Linked DNA regions of Homo sapiens: all the other regions are linked to region 1. Evidence: promoter capture Hi-C in human tissues and cell types (Jung and others, 2019). All regions are on one chromosome and are shown on one strand. Each heading gives the region's core, a stretch centred on a gene start or on the middle of the fragment in contact. The rest is flanking DNA. Distances are from core to core; before and after follow the strand shown.

Region 1 (4,647 bases), core at 1,008-3,507:
CTGCATGAGACCAGGGAAAAGCAAGATCAGTGAGGGGCAAGGGGGGTTCAGAGAAAGTGTTTTAGTAAAGGTGGGATTCATTTACTTTTACTGCTTGAATAGTTCCAAATCAAGTGACACATTATTTTGGAGTAGGGTGGGCTTGGGAGGCAGTGAGGAGGAAAGGGGAATCGAGAGAGCAAATGCAGCGAGGCTGGAATGCAAGTGCCCTGGGCAAGGGACAGCGAGAGGGCCCCACTGTATTTCTTAACCACCCTCCTTCCTCAACTGTGCCCTCCAGTCCCGCCACACAGGCACGCGGTTGGTGCTGCACCAAGATTCAGGGCGTCGGCTGGCGATGTCAGAATGTCCATTCTGCTGGCTGGTGCGGTGTTTTGATTTCCATGGTGGGGCCTGCTGGCATGGCCCTGGCTTCGGGGCTGGGATGGTGCTGTCCCGACTTTGTCCAGATCAGAATGCGGTGCCTATGCCCAGATCTCAGGGGTCTGCTCCCCCTATCCCCCCTCCTCTCTCGACCCTGCCCCTTAGTGGGACCGGTGCAAAGGGGTTGGGAAGGGATCTGGTATCTTCGTCATTGTCGGTACTGCTTCTCCGGGGGTCTACTGGCCCCTCACTGACCTTGCCAAGTGCTCCTCTGGCGAGGGAACACAGGGGACCCCACATTCCTGCGCGGCACTGGCTCCCGTGCTGGCCGAGATGCACAGGAGCACCTGATGATACGGCCGCCCAGGGCTGGGAGCTGGGGCCTCAGTTGGGGGCTCGCTGCCTGCGCTCCCCCAACACCTGCCGCCCGGTCCGCGACACCGTGTATGCCAGCTTCTGCAGGGAGTACCTGAACACCTGCGACGAGAAACCCAGGACCCACCCTTAGTGGAGAGCACCCACAGCATGTCTGTGGTGCTGCCGTGCCCACCCCCGCCCCACCCCCTGCCCCGCCCGCCCATCCAGCGTAGGCTGGAGAGGCGGGCGCGGGCGCAGCTTGTCCACGAGTCAGGGCAGCTGGAGCTTTTCCAACTGTGCTGAGAGCTGCATGGCGGCAAGCTGATTGGACCCACAACTTAGGTATACCTCACTTCTCGCAATGGGCTGTGTCCCTGGAGGATTTCGAAAAGCGAATCCTACCCAGTAAATGCAGCATTCCAGGAACACCTTGAAGGAAATATGCGATTCCTTTGGCAAAGGATTCCTTTAGCAGGGAATTCTTCCTGCAAAGGGAGCTTTTAGGGTAAATGATTTTATGGGCAAAGCGCTTTCTTCTGATTTATCTCTTTTTACACCAAGCGCTTTTGCCTCTTTTTTATTTTTTTTATTATTATTTTTTTTTTTGTAAAGCAATTGTCCTTTTTTGGAAGTGCTTTTTTTCCCCTTCTATTTTTCTCTCGAGGGGCTTTTTCCTCTAATTTTTTTCTTTAAAGCGTTTTTGCCCGATCCATTTTTTTCCGTTAGCTCCCTTGTCTAATTTTTTTCTGCAGTGCGTTTTTAATCTAATGCATTTTTTTCTGCCAAGTGCTTTTCTCCGATTTATTTTTCCTGCAATGCGCGTTTTTCTGTTTTCCTGTGAACTACTTTTTCTCTAATTCGTTGTAGGGTTTTTTTTTTTTGCGAAGTAATTTTTATTTTTTCTGAGAAGTGCCTTTTTCTAACTTATTTTTTGTTCCACCCCCGCAAGCGCTATATGTTTTTTTAAATAAAATTTCTCCGCAATGCGCAATTTTTTAAGGTGGAAAATTTTCACTCTGCGAGCTGTAAAGTCTTTCAACACAGTAGTGCCCCGCCTCCCTCCTGGGGTCGAGTCCGGGTGTAGCGGGTTTTTCTTACCGCGTAGGTCGCTAAATGCCTGGGTGATCGTCCGCAGCGGTCGCCCGCCGCGCCCCGAGTCTTTGTTCCCTGGCAGGCGCGGGCGCACTAGGGAGGGTCAGCGCGAGGAGGACGGCGCAGGGAATGGGCAGGGGGCGCGCGGTGCCGGCAGCGGCACTTGGGCAGGCAAGGATCGCGGCAATCGGAATAGGACGGGTCCGGGAAGCGGCAATCGCGACGCAGTCTTGCGGGTTCTAGGGGCGCGAGTTGGGAACCCTCTCCCACCCGAAACCCCGTCAGACTTACCTGCAGCAGCACGCGGAAGATGTACCAGCCGATGATGAGCAGTTCAGCCGAGGCCGCCGCCACTGCCGCCATGGTTCCAAGAATGGTAGGTGGGTGGTCGAGAAAGAGGGTTTGCCGAGATCCGCTGGTCTCGGAGTCCGCTGTTGGGCGCACTGCCGCAGCCGCGGTGGCCGCGCCTTAAGTACCCGCCCGCCACCTAAGTGCGCATGCGCGCCTTGGGGGGTGTTTATGAGGAGGGGTGGCTGGGGGCGCTCCTCATTCGCCAGGAGAGGAAAAAAATAATCCATCTGCTCTTTCCATACCGACCCCCGCCTCCTGAGTTCCATCTTAGCCCCCTTCCAGAAGATTCCGCCGTGCTTGCTTTTGGATTTTGCTTTAAAATGGAGGGGTACCACGACTCTGGGTAGAGTACAGGGCGAGAATGGGGGTGCAGGTCTCTTAGTGTGGCGCCCTTCTCCCCAGTCCCTGGCCTGCAAATTTGAGCTCAGTCTCCGGTGCCACTCCAAAGCCTACCTTGGGGATGGATGGAAAACCGAAATTAGGGAGGGGTCATCTGCCCCATAGAGCAAAAAACGTGGTGCCCCTTTCAGAAGCTTTGGCATAATAGGCCCGTGCTCGGCGCTCTTTTCCTGATACTGAATGAGTTTTAAGCCCAGGTCCTCTGCTTCATGAGGGTGCCTGAGCGCGTAACCCGTCTGATTCTTTACATCTCTCTTACGGTAGCGAGGAGATGAGAATCTGCGGTGGAGGTCGCTACTGTAGGGAGCTGAGCCAGAGCACTGCGCTTTGGGCGCAAAAGCAGTAGTCACCCGGTATCTGTAGGAGGGATACAGGAAGGATTGGCGCCCTTCGTATGCACGGAAGGAATGAGCTCTACGGAGAAGTGGTTGGAATATGCTTGGGGATAGTTTTCTGCTGGACAGGTCGTTTCGACCTCAGTCTTCCGCTCCCCTCCCCCAAGCCCTGGTAGGTCGGCCTTAGCCAGTGGGGTTCTTTGTACCCGTTGCGCTGTGCGGCTGGATCACCGAACGGGGTTACGCTACCGCTACCGGAGGGTTGTGGCTACCGCAGCCCCGTTTCCAAGTGAGGCGGGTCCCTTTTAGACCGCCAGTCTTGTGGGTCCCTCGCACAGCGCGGATTTTCGGGCGGGAAGACCGGAATGCGGTTTGTGAGTGTGGTCCCCGCGCACCGGTAGCCAGCCGAAAGCACCTCTTTCCAGCAAGCTGCCTGGCCCAGGGACCAACTGGCATTTGCCCCTATGTGGATAGAAAATTAATTTTCATTAAAAGCTCCCAGAGGTCAGGTTCTATACAGTGCCAGCAGCAGATGGAGGTGTAATGATCCAAACGAGTTCAGTTTGGACAAAGTAGCATAGTGACTTTTTTTCTACATTGACTTTCGGAGAAGTTGGCAGATTCTGGCAAAGTGACGCTGGGCTGTTTGAAAAAGGCAAGCTTAGCCTAGGCTGCCATCTTAAAATATTTCGAGGCTGTAGCTGCCTCAGGATCCTTTGCCTGTGGTCTGGTGGCCGGCAGTGCCCCGCTAACAGCTTTAACTCTGCACTTAGTGCCTGAGCACCTATGGCTGTGAGAGATGCTAGATACAGAACCCTGTCCTTACCACGTGGGGGCACAGCAGGGAGCCCTTGGTCGTCCTTTGGCAACCACTGGGCGGTATTGTGAGGTCTGGGCCCCTTGAGGACGGGCTGCAGCCCCAGGAGGCGATACATGATCTCTGCTGGGCAGGGCCCAGGCAAAGCCAGCCCACTGTGTGAAACCGTGCCAAAGAGCCCTCTCCCCGATCCCCCAGGAGAAGCCCCGGGGAGACATCCCAGGAAGCTTCCCGAATTAGTGACTTGGAGAGGAGTAGAACTTTCACGGGTGGGCAGGGAGGAAAGGGCATTTCACATTTGCTGTTGTTAACCATGATCCATTTTCCCAAATAAGTATACATTCTGTTCCTGTTTTTTTTTTTTTTTTCTTTTTTTTTTTTTTTTTTTGTCTGTCTGTCTGTTCTTTGTCTGTTTGTCTGTTGTGTTGACTTTTCTCTTCAGGATCCCTGCTGCCTTGGTGATCCCGGGCTGACAGCCAGAGAGCACAGCGGCTCAGCTCCTGGAGAGTGAGGGTTGAAGAAAGCGGAGGGCAGCCGCCTGCGCCCGCTGGCTCCCATTAGGTCGGTTCCTGCAGCGGTGCCCGGCAGCCTTGGTGAAGGCCCTGCCCGGCAGAGATCATGTATTGCCTCCAGTGGCTGCTGCCCGTCCTCCTCATCCCCAAGCCCCTCAACCCCGCCCTGTGGTTCAGCCACTCCATGTTCATGGGCTTCTACCTGCTCAGCTTCCTCCTGGAACGGAAGCCTTGCACAATTTGTGCCTTGGTTTTCCTGGCAGCCCTGTTCCTTATCTGCTATAGCTGCTGGGGAAACTGTTTCCTGTACCACTGCTCCGATTCCCCGCTTCCAGAATCGGCGCATGATCCCGGCGTTGTGGGCACCTAACGGCCTGCCCTGTTAGCTTTCCAAGGAAGCAGAAGACGGGAGGGGAGGCAT
Region 2 (4,647 bases), core at 1,580-4,079, 200 kb after region 1:
CTGTGAAAGCACTAAAATGCTACTGAATTGTATACTTTAAAATGGTCAGTTTTATGTCATGTGAATTTTACTCCAATAAGTTAAAAAATAAAAACAAAACTCTTCTCTAGAGTCTCTTCCTCATTGATGAGCACAATTTTGCCATTAGTGATTTAGTCCTTTAGATAGTGAAGTGGGCAAGGAAGGAGTGGAGGGAAATGGAGTCAGAGAGGCGAAGGAGGTGAAGTGGTTCTTGCAGGCTCTGTGGGTCCCAGTGAGGACTTTGGCCTTTACCTGAGTGAGATGGGGACAGGTGATGGAGGTGATCTCACAAGTTTTAAGAGGATCCCTCTGACTGCTGTTTTGAGAACAGACTACCAGTGAGGAGGCTGCTGCAATATCCAGGTGAGATGAGGATAGTGAAGTGGTGAGATAGTATCATTCTGGATTTTTAAGGTTGAGTGTCAAGGAGATACTTCAGGGTCAGAAGTGGAGTATGACAGAGAGAGGGAAGTTAAGAATAACTTCAAGGTTTTTGGCCCAAGCAACTGGAAGAATTAAGATGTTGTTTAAGACACAGAGAAGTGAAAGATATTCCAATGTGTTCATGGATTGGAAGAATTAATATTTCTAAAATGTCCATATTACCCAAAGCAACCTACAGATGAAATGTAATCCCTATCAAAATTCCAATGGTATTTTTCACAGAAATAAAAAAGAAAATCCCAAAATTCATATGACCCACAAGAGACCTCACATAACCAGAGCAATCTTGAGAAAGAACAAAGCTGGAGGCATCACACTTCCTGATTTCAAATTATATTACAAAGCTCTAGTAATCAAAACAATATGGTACTGACATAAAAACAATAGTTCAATTGAAAAGAACAAAGAGCCTGGAAATAGACCCAAGCATATATGGTCAACTAATCTTTGACAAGGGCACTAAGAATACACAAAAGGGGAAAGATAACCTCTTCAATAAATGGTGTTGGGCTGGGCAAAGTGGCTCAAGCCTGTAATCTTAGACCTTTGGGAAGGTGAGGCAGGAGGATCACTTAAGCCCAGGAGTTCAAGACCAGCCTAGGCAACATACTGGGACTCTGTCTCTACAAAAAATAAAAAAATAGCTGGGTGTGGTGGTGTGCACCTGCAGTCCCAGCTACTTGGGAGGCTGAGGCAGGAAGATCACTTGAGTCTTTGGCTACAATGAGCCATAATTGTGCCATTGCACTCCAGCCTGGGCAATAGAGAGATTCTGTCTCAAAAAAAAATAAAAAATAAATGGTGCTTGGAAAACTAGATAGCCACTTACAAAATAATGAAATTGAACCCTTATACTATATACAAAAATCATCTCAAAATAGATTAAACACTTAAATATAAAATCTGAAATTTTAAAACTCCTAGAAGAAAACAGGGAAAAAGCTTTTTAAAATCATATATATGTAATTTAATTTTTTTTTTTTTTTTTTTTTTTTTTTTGCAGAGATGGTGTCTCACTATGTTCTCACTATGTTGCCCAGGCTCGTCTCAAACTCTGGGCCTCAAATGTCTTCCCAGCTAGGCCTCTCAAAATGCTGGGATTATAAGTGTGAGCCACCACACCCAGCCGGGAAAAAGCATTTTGACATTGGCCTTGGCAACAATTTTTTGGATATGGCAACTAAAGCACAGGCAACAAACACAAAAATAAAAAAAATAGGACTGCATCAAACTAAAAAGTTTCTGCACAGCAAAGGAAACAATCAACAAAATGAAAAGGCCATCTACAGAATGGAAGAAAATGTTTGCAAATCATATATATGATAGGGTATTAATATCCAAAATATATAAGAAACTCATACAACTCCATAGCAAAAAAACAACCCAACGAACCCAATTTTTTAAATGGTCAAAGGACCTAAATAGACAGTTTTCCAAAGAAAACATACTAATGGTCAGCAGGTCTATGGAAGGGTTATCAACATCACTAAATATGCAAATCAAAACCGGGAGATATCACCTCACACCTATTAGAGGGGCTATTATTTTAAAAACAAAAGGTAACTGTTGGCAAAGATGTTTAGAAATTGGAACCTGGTACTCTACTGGTGGGAATGTAAATTGGTACAGCCATTATAGAAAATGGTGTGGAGGCTCCTCAAAAAATAATAATAAAAAAAGAACTACCAAATGATCCAACAATCCCACTTCTGGGTATTTATCCAAAGGAAATTAAATCAGTATCTCAAAGAAATGCTACATTCCTATGTTTATTGCAGCATTATTCATAATAGATAAGATACAGAAACAACCTATATGTTCATCAACTGATGAATGGATAAAGGAAATGTGGTGTACATACAATGGAATATTATTAAGCCTTAACAAAAAAAAAAAAAGGAGGCCGGGCGTGGTGGCTCATGCCTGTAATCCCAGCACTTTGGGAGGCCGAGGTGGGCGGATCACGAGGTCAGGAGATCGAGACCATCTTGGCTAACACAGTGAAACCCCATCTCTACTAAAAATACAAAAAATTAGCCAGGCGTGGTGGTGGGAGCCTGTAGTCGCAGCTAATCGGGAGGCTGAGGTAAAAGAATGGCATGAACCTGGGAAGCGGAGCTTGCAGTGAGCCGAGATCGGGCCACTGCACTCCAGCCTGGGCGACAGAGCAAGACTCTGCCTCAAAAAAAACAAAAAAAAAACCACAAAACGGAAATCCAGGCTAGGCACAGTGGCTCACGCCTATAACCCCAGAGGCCGGGGCGGGCAGGTCACGATGTCAGGAGTTTGAGACCAGTCTGGCCAACATGGTGAAACCCTGTCTCTACTAAAAATACAAAAATTAGCCGGGCATGATGACGAGTGCCTGTAGTCCCAGATACTCAGGAGGCTGAGGCAGGAGAATCACTTGAACCCAGGAGGTGGAGGTTGCAGTGAGCCGAGATCGTACCACTGCACTCCAGCCTGGGTGACAGAGCGAGACTCCATCTCAAAAAAAAAAAAACAGAAAAGAAAAAAAAAAAAAAGAAATTCTGCCATTTGCAACAACATGAATGGACCTGTGAAATAAGCCAGACACAGAGCGAGAAATATTGCATGATCTCATTTATATGTAGAATCTAAAATAGTCAAACCTGCAAAATCAGAGAGTAGAATGGAGGTTGCTAAGGACTGGGAGTAGTGGGTGACGGGGAGCTGTTGGTTAAGGGGCACAAAGTTTCAGTTATGCAAGATGAAAGCGTGCTGGAGATCTAATGTATAGCACGGTGACTATAGACAATGATACTGTACTATAGTCATCCCTGGGTATCTGCCTGGGATTTGTTTCAGGACCCCCACAGACATCAAAATCCACACATATTCAAGTCTCGAGGTGGGCCCTGTGAAACCCACCTCTAGGAGAAGTTAGTCCTCCATATATGTGGATTTCGCATCCCACAAACACTATTTTTGATATGCCCTTGGTTGTAGATGTGGATGTGGATATGAAGGAATTGTATTTACTGAAAAAAAGCTGCGTATAAGTGGACCACACAGTTCAAACCCATGTTGCTCAAGGGTCAACCGTATATACTTGAAATTTTCTAAGATCCTAAGTGTTCTCACCCCCACGCCCCACCGCCCGACACACACACATATAACTATGTGAGGTGATGGATATTTTAATTAGCTTGATTGTGGTGATTATTTCACAACATATACGTATATCAAATCAGCAAGTTGTATATTTTAAATAGATACTTTGTTTTTCTTAAGATGCTCTTTAAGATAGGGAAGACCACGAAAAGAGCAGGCTTGGGGCTGCTGGTGAGATCAGGAATGTGCTTTGAGATGCCTGTTGTGTATTCAAATGGAGATAATGAGTAGGAAGTCAGATATGTGAGTCTGGAGCTCAGGAGTAGGGCTGGAGAGATCCGTCTGGGAGACATCAGCATGTGAGTGGTGTGATGGTTAATTTTATATGTCAACTTGACTAGGCCACAGGACGAGCAGGTATCTGATTAAATAGTATTTCTGGGTGTGTCTGTGTTCCGGAAGAGATTAGCATTTGAATCTGTGGACTGAGTAAAGCGGGTGGGCCTCATCCATTTAAGGGCCTGAACAGAACAAAAAGAGGAAGGTTGGACTCGCCCTCCCGCTGTCTGACTGCATGAGCTGGGACATTTGTCTTCTCTCAGCACTCCAGGTTCTCAGGCCTTCAGACTCAGACAGAATCTACACCATCGGCCCCTTACTGGCTTTCTTGGGTTTCCAGCTTGCAGGCAGCAGATCGTGGGACTTCTCGGCCTCCATAATCACTGGAGACAATATCTTGTAAGAAGTCTCGCTGGGTACGGTGGTTCATGCCTGTAATCCCAGCACTTTGGGAGGCCAAGGCAGGTGGATCACTTGTGGCCAGGAGTTCGAGACCAGCCTGGCCAACATGGCGAAACCCCATCTCTACTAAAAATACAAAAACTAGCTGTGCGTGGTGGCACATGCCTGTAATCCCAGCTACTTGGGAGGCTGAGGCAGGAGAATCGCTTGAACCCGGGAGGCGGAGGCTGCAGGGAGCTGAGATCGCGCCACTGCACTCCAACCTGGGTGACAGAGCAAGACTCCATCTCAAAAAATACAAACTTTTAAAGTCTCCTTCTATGTTTCTCTGGAAAATCCTAATACGGGTGGTATTTAAAGCCACGA
Region 3 (4,647 bases), core at 857-3,356, 190 kb before region 1:
AGACTGTCAGAGTTGCAGAACTGGAAAGTCTGTAAGCTTCTCAAGCAAGGTTTTGCTCAAACTGTCCTTTCACAGGAGGATCAGATGGGCCAGATAATGGGCTAGGGCCAAAGGTTGGGTCTTAAAGGTCCAGCTAGGGTAGGGCACACCATATGAGGCACACTGTATATGGCAGCTCCCATCCCAACCATGCAGAGCCCTTAATAATAGACTCTGGGTTGGGAGCCACAGAGCACATGTACATATCAAGCCTAAAGAAACTGGTGTGTGTGTTGGAGAGGAGACGAAAGCAGAGGTAGGGTATGACAGAGAGCCAAGAGTCAGGCACAAGACAAGAAGTGAGCAGAGGCATAAACTGGTGAAGAACAAACATACAGGGTCTCAGGTGATCGATATAATTAGATTTCACGGGCCTGTGGGTGTGTGTATATGGATATAAGGCTGACTAAAAGATACAGGGTTAAGGCAATCAGACAGGTAAATGGCTACCTTCCAGAAAGATAAGCATCATGAAAGAAAGGAGCACCCCACAGAAGGCCAGGTTAAGCCCCTATTTGTGAGTGGTAGTTTCACTTGAAAGACTCATGATTAGTGGACAACAGTAATTGCTCAGATGTTCTCTAGTTCCCAGGATGGCAGTGGGGGGGGCAAAGAGATGCTAGAGGAAAAGCAACATGGAAAATATAGACTACTCAGGCTAAAATGATTTCTAGTATCTCACAGACTTCGGAATCTAGCAACAGAGCTCTAAAAAGTTTTGCAGTTCATCCAAAAATGACCAAGAATACGAATGCTTCATTCTTCCAACAACCTCAACTTTTCAAAACACCATTAAAAGAATGGGCAAAAAAGGCCTTAGAGGTTAGATATCATATCAAACAAACAATAACACTAAGGAGTGACAGCTGACACCAAGGAAAAGAATGTAAACTACACAAAGTAGGCACAAGAACTCAAAATCCCTACTATTCCACAGTGCAGAAGTAAAAGCTTTCCAGATTTCAAAAGGTCATGAGAGAATTCAGGCACAACTAACATGTATTCATAATGATGCTCCTGAGATCACAGTGTGTCCTACTGAGAAAGGCAAGAATGTTCATGTTTTAGAAAGCTCTCCATACAAAATGATGAAAAATACATGTTTTGCACATGGAAAAGAGGACGCATAATCAAGGACACAGCACTGCCTGACCCCGATTTTGTCACCAAGTTGTTGGGGTGCTAAAGTTATTTCCCTCTCTGGGCTCTCTGGTTTACCCATGTGTACAAAGAAGAAGCTGGAATAGATCGTCTTGCCACTTAAAAGCTTCAGTTACCTGGAAAGTCTGTTTCTGAAGGGCATCACATTTTCCAAAGACACCAGAGAAACAAGAAGTTAGTACAATTCAATACAATCTGTGCCACCTTTTTTAAAAAAGGAATCTCATTATGGGTTTCTTTCAGCTACAACCCTCAATCAATCGCAATGTCTTTTTCGTGTCCTCCTTTATTGCCGAGTTTCACTATTCTGTTAGTCCTTCGGCATCTCTACCTTCCCTTGCCCAATAGAGGTACTCCTGGCCAGAGCCCCCATTACGTGTTTCAGCTTCTCTGTGAATAACTATGCAAGCTTGAGATGCTCAAAAGTTTCCCCCATCATTAATCCTATTATGGAAGCATTGATGTTGAGAGCGTCTGCTAAAAGATAACATGACAAACTGTAGCTACAATTTGTTTCTTTTTATACAAAGCTGCAAAGAAAATCGCATTCCAACATTATATACCAGCAGAGGACTGGTGTGCTGCTAATGTTTAACTCTATCAAGGATCCCAAAAGAAAATTTAAACTGAGATGCTCTTAACTGGAAATAGGGGATTCAAATAAAGAAATGTCATCAACCCTCAATTTTATGTATTAACAGAATGAGCACATGAATAATGCCAAACATGAAGCTAGAATCTGCACTAAAAATAATGCCAGCAAAACTGTTCAAGAATCAATCATGCCTGCTTTTGGAATAAAGTCAGATATATTCAGAGAGAAGCATCATGATACTCTGCTTGGTTTCAACTCCCTCTTTTTTTTTGTTTGTTTTTTTGGACGGAGTCTTGCTCTGTTGCCAGGCTGGAGTGCAGTGGCGCGATCTCGGCTCACTGCACCCTCCACCTCCCAGGTTCAAGCAATTCTCCTGTCTCAGCCTCCTGAGTAGCTGGCACTACAGGTGCATGCTACCATGCCCAACTAATTTTTGTATTTTCAGTAGAGACAGGGTTTCACCATGTTGGCCAGGATGGTCTCGATCTCTTGACCTCATAATTCGCCCACCTCGGCGTCCCAAAGTGCTGGGATTACAGGTGTGAGCCACCGCGCCTGGCCAGTTTCAACTCCTTCTTAGTTCAGTGACTCTAGATATTGCTGGGTAGCTGTTGAAAGGAAGTACAAAGAGCCAGTGCACATAATCTGCTTACAAGCAGCTGATAATCCAAAGTGAGTTAAAAGATAGAAAGGCACTGCAGTAGTCTCACTAGATCCTTCACTGAACTCCAGGATGAAGAAAAGCTAATTTCCATTTACCAACCCACAATGGAGCTGGAATTCTAAAGTTTAGGCTAAAACATTTTCAGATCAGTCACTGCTGGAATTCTATGGAAAAGAAACTAGTTCTGAACTACAAGCATACCTCATTTTTTTCCCCCTTTGCAGATACTGTGCTTTTTACAAATTGAAGATTTATAGAAACCCCGCATCAAGAAAGTCTATCAGCTGGGCGCGGTGGCTCACACCTGTAATCCCAACACTTTGGGAGGCTGAGGTGGGCAGATCACTTGAGCCCAAGAGTTTCAGACCAGACTGGGCAACATGCCAAAACCCCATCTCTACAAAAAATACAAAAATTAGCTGGGCATGGTGGCACACACCTGTAGTCCCAGCTAATCTGGGATTGCTCGAGCCCATGAGGTCAAGGCTGCAGGGAACCATGATCCTGCTGCTGTACTCCAGCCTGGGCAATAGAGCCAGACTCTACCTCCAAAAAAAAAAAAAAGAAAGTCTATCGCTGCCATTTTTCCAAAATCATGTGTTCACTTCATGTCTGTGTCACATTTTGACAATTACTGCAATGTTTCAAACTTTTTCATTATTATCATATCTGCTATGGTAATCCGTGATGAGTGATCTTTAATATTACTACTTTGTTTTCAGGCACTACAAACACGCCCACGTGAGACAGCGAACTTAATGAATAAATGTGTGTGTTCTGAGTGCCTCAACCAGCCTTTCCTCTTTCTCTCTCTCTCTCTCTCTCCTCAGGTCTCCCTATTCTCTGAGACACAACAATACTGCAATTAAGTAATTAATAACCCTACAATGGCCCTAAGTGTTCAAGTGAAAGAAAGAGTCTCACATCTCTCACTTTAAATCAAAAGCTATACATGATTAAGCTTTAGTGAGGAAAGGATGTTGAAAGCGGCAATGGGCCGAAAGCGAGGCCTGTTATACCAGACAGAAAAGCGTGAATGCACAGGAAAAGCTCTTGAAGGATATTAAAAGTGCTACTCCAGTAAACATATGAATAGTAAAAGAGCTAAAGAGCCTTACTGCTTATATGGAGAAAGTCTTAGTGCTCTGGACAGAAGATCAAACCAGTCACAACATTCTCTTGAGCCAAGCCTAATCCAGAGCAAGGCCCTAACTCTCTTCAGTTCTATGAAGGCTAAGAGAGGTGAGGAAGCTGCACACAAAGTTTGAAGCTAGCAGAGGCTTATTCATAAGGCTTAAGGAAAGAAGCCACTTCCATAACATGAAAGCGCAAGGTGAACCCAGAAGTGCTGATGTAGAAGCTGCAGCAAGTTAGTCAGAAGAATTAGCTAAGATCATTGATGAAGGTGGCTACACTAAACAACAGATTTTCAATGTTGACAAAACAGCCTTCTGTTGGAAGAAGAGGCCATCTAGGATTTTCACAGCTAGAGAGAAGTCAATGCCTGGCCTCAAAGCTTCAAAGGACAGGCTGATGCTCTTCTTAGGGACTAATGACTTTTAAATTGAAGCCAATGCTCATTTAGCATTTTGAAATCCTAGGGCCCTTGGGAATTATGCTAAATCTACCCTGCCTGTGTTCTAGAAATGGAATAACAAAGCCTGGATGACAGCATATCTGTTTACAGCATTGTTTACTGAATATTTTAAGCCCACTGTTAAGACCTACTGCTCAGAAAAAAAAAAATTTCTTCCAAAATATTACTGTTCATTGCCAATGCATCTGGTCACCCAAGAGGTCTGATGGAGATGTACAAGGAGATGAATGTTAATTATATGCCTGCACACACAGCATCCATTCTGCAGCCCATGGATCAAAGAGTAATTTCAACTTTCAAGTATTATTCTTTAATATTTAAGAAATGCATTCATAAGTCTATAGCTGCCATGGATAGTGATTCTTCTGATGGATCTGGGCAAAATAAATTGAAAACTTTCTGGAAAAGATTTATCATTCTAGATGCCATCAAGAACATTCATAATTCATGGGAGGAGGACAATATATTAACATTAACAGGAGTTTAGAAGAAGTTGATTCCAATCCTCGTGGATGTCTTTGAGGGGTTCAAGATTTCAGTGGAAGAACTAACTGCAGATGTGGTGGAAACAGTAAGATAACTAGAATTCGA

The links. The method cuts DNA at HindIII sites, captures the fragments that hold promoters and counts their contacts. A contact is called where the count stands out against the background at its distance.
Region 2: a fragment that was not itself captured here is called in contact with the fragment with the promoter of NNAT in region 1 in 1 of the 25 tissues and cell types used here (spleen).
Region 3: a contact is called between a fragment that was not itself captured here and the fragment with the promoter of NNAT in region 1, in 1 of the 25 tissues and cell types used here (dorsolateral prefrontal cortex).

The regions. Positions count from the first base shown.
Region 1 is chr20:37,518,860-37,523,506 of GRCh38, reverse strand. It overlaps NNAT (neuronatin), which reads right to left and starts at 2,257. Exons shown (of 3, transcript NM_005386.4): 1 at 2,104-2,257; 2 at 1,069-1,149; 3 at 1-840. The coding sequence starts at 2,175. The coding sequence ends at 748. BLCAP (BLCAP apoptosis inducing factor) reads left to right here. Exons shown (of 2, transcript NM_006698.4): 2 at 4,157-4,647. The coding sequence starts at 4,333. The coding sequence ends at 4,596. RefSeq lists enhancers at 3,185-4,048, 4,049-4,647. The HindIII fragment of the contact is 18,819 bases long and covers 1-3,127 here.
Region 2 is chr20:37,318,734-37,323,380 of GRCh38, reverse strand. No RefSeq gene overlaps it. Among named protein-coding and RNA genes, the nearest start is that of SRC, 25 kb to the left of the region's middle. RefSeq lists an enhancer at 3,510-4,207. The HindIII fragment of the contact is 5,123 bases long and covers 268-4,647 here.
Region 3 is chr20:37,706,566-37,711,212 of GRCh38, reverse strand. All of the region lies in intron 1 of CTNNBL1 (catenin beta like 1), which reads right to left. Among named protein-coding and RNA genes, the nearest start is that of CTNNBL1, 15 kb to the right of the region's middle. The HindIII fragment of the contact is 3,185 bases long and covers 514-3,698 here.